2 separate regions of the Homo sapiens genome follow, and region 2 is linked to region 1. The links are contacts of gene promoters, found by promoter capture Hi-C in human tissues and cell types (Jung and others, 2019). All regions are on one chromosome and are shown on one strand. Each heading gives the region's core, a stretch centred on a gene start or on the middle of the fragment in contact. The rest is flanking DNA. Distances are from core to core; before and after follow the strand shown. Region 1 holds the start of ITGA3 (integrin subunit alpha 3). Region 2 holds the start of XYLT2 (xylosyltransferase 2).

Region 1 (3,401 bases), core at 284-2,783:
TAATCCCAGCTACTCAGGAGGCTGAGGCAGGAGAATCGCTTGAACCCCGGAGGCAGAGGTTGCAGTGAGCGGAGATCGCGCCACTGCACTCCAGCCTGGGAGACAGAGCGAGACTCCGTCGTCTCAAAAACAAAACAAAACAAAACAAAAAAACAATGTTCCGGGGAAAATGGGTCTCTGAGCTGCAATAAGAGAAATGTGAGTTAGATCCAAGAAAGTACATAGTAACCTCTTTTTTTTTTTTGAGACGACGTCTCACTCTGTCACCCAGGCTGGAGTGCAGTGGCGCGATCTCGGCTCACTGCAACCTGCGCCTCCCGGGTTCAAGCGATTCTCCTGCCCCAGCCTCCCAAATAGCTGGAACTACAGGCGCCCGCCACCACGACCGGCTAATTTTTGTATTTTTTTAGTAGAGACAGGGTTTCCCCACATTGGCCAGGCTGGTCTCGAACTCCTGACTTCGTGATCCGCCCTCCCCGGGTTCCCAAAGTGCTGGGATTACAGGCGTGAACCACTGCGCCTGGCCAGAGTAACCTCTTGAAGTTCCCTTTCGATTTGATTCCTTGGTGGAGGAGACCTTTAGTCTCCGCCCACTTACTGCCACCTGGCCCTACCCACCAAACACCTGATGGGTGCTGACGTCCGAGCCCAGTCTCCAAACACTCTGTTCGAGCTTGGGTGGGAAGAGGGAGCCTCTGGGATTCTGCTGGGCTGGGCCCTGAAGGCAGGAGTGGACGAGAAATGGATACGGTCTAGGCTCAGCTTCCCGGCTACGCAGTGCGTTCTGTGAAGGACGGACTCATTTCTACATTGACAGTCTTAGCCTTTGATACCAGAAGTCGCAGCACTTAGGGGGAAAAATGCTTTTTGGTAATTATAATTAGCGACATTTGGTTGTTACCACTGCTAAATATGTCTGTCTTTGCTGAGGAGCCAATCTCAGCTCGGATCAGGGTGAGTGGATAGGAGAAATAAATCTCGGCAAAGACAGCGAGGGGCCTGAGTGCGAGGAAGAACTCCCAGAGACCGCCAGCCACCTCTTGGGGACTCACAGCGCTGCGGAGGCGAGTCCAGCATTCTAGCCAGCCGCGCACGGACGTCGGTTCCCAGATGCGCCAATGCCAGGTCTCTCCAGCCCGGCTGGCCTTTTCAGCAGCAGCAGCAGCAGCCGCAGGAAAGCGGCCAGACAAATCCCACCCCCGGCCCCGCCCGTCACATCCATCTTGCTCCCCAGGCGACGCTTTCTCGGAGAAGCGAGGGGCGGGGAGGGGAAATCTAAGCCTTTGGGGGTTGCCGACAGGTGTTTGGGGGAGAAGGCGGAGCTGGGGTAGGGAGGATGAGGAGGGAGGGGCGGTGCTGCCCCTTTAAGAGGAGGCGGCCGAGCCGGGATCTTTTTCTCTTTCCCCGGAAGGAAAGCGCAGCCCGGGCTGGGCTCGCAAGGTGGGGAGGTGCGGGACTGGGCGTGGGGAGGCGGGGCGCGCGCCGGGGGACCCCTCCCTCCTGTCCTCCTTGCGGTCGACCGGTGCGCTTGCCAGATCCGCCGCGAAGCCGGGATCGAAGGCGACAGCGCGGCCAAGGGGGCGCGGCCGGGACAAGCTGGGGGCCGGTTGCCCGGGGCAGGGACGGCGGCGACCCGGCCGCTGGGGAGGCAGGAAGATAGACCCACGGATCTTAGGAAGGGATCCGAGAGCGCAGCTGTGAAACTGGCTGGGGCTGGGGGCACGAAACCGATCAGCGCTACGGAGCGCAGCGGCCGGCGGGTTCCAGTGTCCTCCGGCGGCGCGGGGAGCAGGTGAACAGGTCCTCACGCCCAGCTCCGCGCCCTCACGCGCTCTCGCCGGGACCCCGCTTCCGCTGGCAGCCATGGGCCCCGGCCCCAGCCGCGCGCCCCGCGCCCCACGCCTGATGCTCTGTGCGCTCGCCTTGATGGTGGCGGCCGGCGGCTGCGTCGTCTCCGCCTTCAACCTGGATACCCGATTCCTGGTAGTGAAGGAGGCCGGGAACCCGGGCAGCCTCTTCGGCTACTCGGTCGCCCTCCATCGGCAGACAGAGCGGCAGCAGCGCTACCTGTAAGTGAAGCTGGAGGGTGTGGGGTGGGAGCGAGAGAGTGTGCGAGCGCGGGATGCGGGTCCGGAGCTGAGTCGGAGCCCAGGGCAGCTGGCCCTTGGGAGCCAGGATTAAGGGGCGGCCCTCTGGCTGCTGGGGGTTGGCGGGAAGTGGAGGATTGGGTGTGGGGTCGGGCAGTAATCATTGGCAAGTGCTGACGGGGCCAGAACCTGTCTGGACGCCACCCCTCCGCCCTTTAGATCTCTCATGAGAGCGGAAGTGGGGTCCCGGTGGCTGAGTCCTCTCCCATTCTGTGAACCGAGTACCCAGCACTAGCCTGTTCTCTCCAGGGCTGGGAGCTGGGGTAAACTGCAAGATAAACACCCAGCGGACTCCCCCCTTCCCGTACGCTTGGGGGAAAAATGAGCATATACATTTAAGCACCTCGCTGGTAGTCTGCGGCCACGCCAGCCACACCCTCTGCAGAGCCAGACTGGATGGCCTTCTCAACCGCTGGCTTGGCGGATGGAGGGTGAGGCGATGGGTGAGTCTGGGCGTTTGGAGCTGTCCATACGCTCCCTCTGACGCCTTGAGGATAGGGGCGGTGAAAGAGAGAGGAGGACTTGTCCCAACTCTGGCTGGGTCTCCTCCTGCCCACCCGCAAGCAGTGGCACTCTCCCCGCAGACATCTTCCCTGCATTCCACAGATTCGTGTTGGATCTTCAACCCTGAGTGTGTTTGTTTTGGTTTGAAGAGGGAAACAGTGTTTTTCTCTTTCTTCTGTTCTCCTTCCCCAACAGCTGCAAGGAGGAGGGGAAGAGCTATGCACAGTGGAGGAAGGAGGAGGAGGTTGCACCCAGCCTCCTGGGTCCCCCTCACTCCACCAGACGCCCTCATGCCCAGGAGCATGTCCAGGCTTCAGAGGTCTCTCTGCCGTGGCCTCAGAGCGCGCGGAGGTTGGCGGTTGGGGGAGGTGAAGCTGTCCAAAGAGGGACGGTGTTTAGGACAGGTTAAGCAGGTACCATCCACCACTTTGGGCTGGGCGATCTGCCAGGCATCTGCCCCCACCTAGCCTCTGCCCCCACCTGGCCTCTGACCCCACTGAACAAGAAGACGTGGTCACATCCAGGGTACACTGGAAAATCTCCCTGCTCTGGCTGGGGCCTGCAGAGCTTGAGGAAGTTTAGAATGTCCAAAGTCCAAACTCTGCCCCCGCCTTGGTTCTGCCCTCCTGACCCAGCCTACCTACCTGGACTTAACCTCAACTCCATCTTGCTCTTGCAGAGGCTAGGGCTACCACACCCTTCCCAGCCTGGCCCCAGCAGCTGCCACCTGGCCTTAGCCAACCCTCTATC
Region 2 (3,454 bases), core at 354-2,853, 290 kb after region 1:
GAGCACACAAGATCAATATTTAATTAACATATCAATTGCCGGGATGTCAACTGATGTTTTCCAAAATCATTGAAGTGTAGGCTCTCTTAAGTAGCCAAACTGTCGTCGGAAACATAGTTTACAATTCTCCCATTTAACAAACGCGGAGGAACAGAATGATTACAAATGCTAAAGCGCAGAAGACGATTAAAGGAGGTTATTTATGTACCATCAAATGCTTGTGTATCCTGTACACATCAGTTTAGAATTCTCTCATCAACCCAACCTTGTGGCAACTTCCAAACCCCTCCATCATGGCCTTCTAACTTTTCAAACTTTTTTTTTTGTAAGCCACTTCTCTTTCCAGACCTCTCTGTAGTGGTTCCTAACGTCTTCCCTTTAAACCTTCTAACTTGTGTTTGCTATTTTTATGACTTCCTCCTCCCAGTGCCTGGCTTCCCCAGCTGGGGATTCACCTTGCTTTGGTGGCCACTGTTTTGCTCTTCTCGCCTTCCCTCTCTCCATGGGCCTGCCAGGCTTAGGGAAGGCCGCAGGTGCTTAGACCTTGTCCAATGCGGTGCTCATTGAACACGCCGGGTTCTCAAACAAATGTTAGGGACAGCTGGTTAGACGGGAATCTGGGCCTCCCCTGCTTGCTTTCCGCAACATTTCTTGAGCATTGCTGGGTGTCCAAGGCAGGGCGAGATCCCAGAGCAGTCACGACCGGATGTATGATTGGTGCTCACTGCACAGTGCTGGGGACGCACAGGGAGGATGCCACTGATGGTGTAGGGGGTGGGGACTTGGCAGAGGGAGCAGCATGTGTCGAGGTCTACTGGTTCTCCAAGTTTGGTCCCAGAGCAAAGGCATCAGCATCACCTGGGAACCTGCTGAAAATTCTAATGCTTAGGCCTCACTACCGACCTACCAAAGCAGACACTCTGGGGGAGGGAGGAGGGGCACTAAAAATCTGTTTTATCAAGACCTCCAAGAGACTCCAACACACGCTAGAGTAGTTTGAGAACCACGACTCTGGGAGCGGCCTGAGGATGCTTAGGATGAGCGCAGAGCGGAAAGGAGGATTCGTGAAGGCTCTCTGATGCCAGTCAAGGGGTTAGACTTTGCCCCGCAGGTGCGGCCTCCAGGTTTTTAAGCAGACGCCTGTGGCTCTCACACGCCCTCTCCCAAGGCGGCGTCTCTGGGAGCCCTGGCGTTCCCTGGGCCCCCGGGACCGAGAGCTTACCCGCGTGGGACTGAACTCGCCCACGACCCCCGACACCAGGCAAGAGAGGTTGTGCCGCAGACCCTCCACTCCCCAGCACCAGGCGCTCGCCGTCCAGGTGGAGGGGAGCACACGTGGGAGCCAGGGGCACCGGCGGAGACACGAGCGCAGAAGGCACGCGCTCAAGCCCACGCCCGCGACTGCCGGGACTGAAGGTGTTGCGAGCCCCGGCTCCACCCCTAGCCTGCGGTGCGCCGTGCTTTGGCCCCGCAGGCCCCGCCCCCGGCCCCGCCCCGGCGCGCGCCCGGCCCGCCTCCCTAGGCGTGGAGGAGGGGGGGCGGCTCAGCCCCGCGCCCGTGCGCGCGCTCGCGGCCGGGTTGCAGGGCTGGGCGCGCGCCCCGCGTCCCGGGCAGGAAGATGGTGGCGAGCGCGCGAGTGCAGAAGCTGGTGCGGCGCTACAAGCTGGCGATTGCCACGGCGCTGGCCATCCTGCTGCTGCAGGGCCTGGTAGTGTGGAGCTTCAGCGGCCTGGAGGAGGACGAGGCGGGCGAGGTGCTCCGACGGCCGGGCGGGCGGGCAGGCCGGGCGCGGGGGCGCGCGGGGTCCTGGCGGGGCTGCGGGCGGCCCCAGCCGGGGAAGTGGGGCACGGGCCGCGTGCGTGCGTGCGGGGCGCCGGCGGTCGCCCAGAGCGGAGCATCCGGCCCCCGGCACTCCCTTCCCCAGCAGGCCTAGGGAGCTGCGCGCGGGGGCAGTGCGTGACCTGGAGACCCGGGCCCTGGTGGATTGGGAGTCGGGCGGGGGGAGCAGGTCATGCTAGGGTGGTCTCCGGCCAAGGGAGCGATGAAGGTCAGGCGCGGCGAGCGGGGCTGGGAGGCGGGGCTGGGCCCGAACCTGCTCGGAGGTGGGGAGCCCCAGGCCAAACTTTCTGAAGTTGGGAGGGGGCGGGGATATGCGCGCCGTGGGCGGAGGAGTAGGGCCAAGGGACTCAGGGCGTCCTTCCCCAGCTGAGCCCGAGGGGCAGCGGCCGGTGAGGAAGGGGAGCTCGGGGGTGGAATTCAGGCCTGGGACAAAGTGTGTACCCGGGAACTGAAGGAACAGGGAGTGACGCCGAAGGAGAGAACTGGAGTATTCCCGAGGTGTGGCTTCCTCAGCCGGGGGTTTGAAGAACCTGGATGGGTCTCCGGAGGGCAGGGAGAGGAGGAACTGAGCTGGTGAGTTGGCCTCAGGACCTTAGGGAATTAGGGAGGGGCCCTCTGGCTTTAAGGGAATGGGGACTGTAACAGAGCCCCAGCCGCAGAGCAGGGGCAACCAACAGCCGTCTCAGCCCCCAAGTCCCTGCCTCGAGGGTCTTTCTCCCTCTTCCCCGATGTGGTTTCAGCGGGAGGCTCAGACACCTCAGCGGTGTGGTGAGGAAGGGTCCATTGGGTCTGGGTTCGTGCTGCGGAGATGGAGAGGACAGGCCACACCACAGCCCTAAGCTGTGGCCCAGAGGTCAGGACCTCCCTGCCCCCAGCGCCCCTGTTCTGCTGCCTCCAGGGCTCCGGGTCAGAGACTCTATCTGCTGCTGTCCTCCGGCAAGCCCCGATACCCGCGACCCCTTACCGCATCTCGCCAGTCTGGAAGGCCTGGTGTGGAGACAGAAGAGCTGCCCTTGCCTTTTTTTGGGAGAACCCAGAGGGTGGGATGGTGATGGGGGCTGGAACAGAGTCACATGAGACCATAACTCCAAAAGGAGGTGGGGGCGGGGGTGGGGCTGGCTCCGTGACATCCGTGGGGTGTAGACCTACAAGTAGGACAAGCAAGTAGGAGAGTGTTTCAGGCCCAGTGTAAGAAGACTGTTTGGGCAGATGGGACATTCCAAGATGGAATGGGCTGCCAAAGCAGTTAGGGAGCCCTCTGACCCTGGAATATGTGACCACTCTGGGCTACCGCCCCCATCCCCCACCACCTCCTCCTCCAGCTTCCTGGCTGAATGAATAGGGGAATCCTGGGCTGGAATGTTTGAAAAAGCTTGTGCGGTCCAGGCACCCATTGCTGCTTGGACCCCCTCAGCTGCTCCCTCACCTGACTCTGGGGTTGCCAGGCAGCATAACGGGGTGCATGGGAAGGTGAGTGCTGAAGCTGGACCACCCACTTCACCACTCTCTTCCAGCTCTGACCCTGAGAAGACCACCAGCAAATCACTTTGCCTCCTCCCTTATCCTTATCAGTATCCCTCCTCAAGATGGGGATAATAATGGCACCTCCCGTGTT

Evidence for each region. Contacts are between HindIII fragments. The study calls those that stand out against the background at their distance.
Region 2: a contact is called between the fragment with the promoter of XYLT2 here and the fragment with the promoter of ITGA3 in region 1, in 1 of the 25 tissues and cell types used here (IMR-90 fibroblasts).

The regions. Positions count from the first base shown.
Region 1 is chr17:50,054,577-50,057,977 of GRCh38, forward strand. It overlaps ITGA3 (integrin subunit alpha 3), which reads left to right and starts at 1,534. Exons shown (of 26, transcript NM_002204.4): 1 at 1,534-2,069. The coding sequence starts at 1,864. PICART1 (p53 inducible cancer associated RNA transcript 1) reads right to left here and starts at 1,163. Exons shown (of 3, transcript NR_038230.1): 1 at 1,053-1,163. RefSeq lists an enhancer at 1-488 and a silencer at 1,468-1,607. The HindIII fragment of the contact is 12,867 bases long and covers 1-3,401 here.
Region 2 is chr17:50,344,523-50,347,976 of GRCh38, forward strand. XYLT2 (xylosyltransferase 2) reads left to right here and starts at 1,604. Exons shown (of 11, transcript NM_022167.4): 1 at 1,604-1,753. The coding sequence starts at 1,619. RefSeq lists silencers at 1,391-1,590, 1,651-1,750, 1,821-1,910, 2,726-3,020. The HindIII fragment of the contact is 7,409 bases long and covers 1-3,454 here.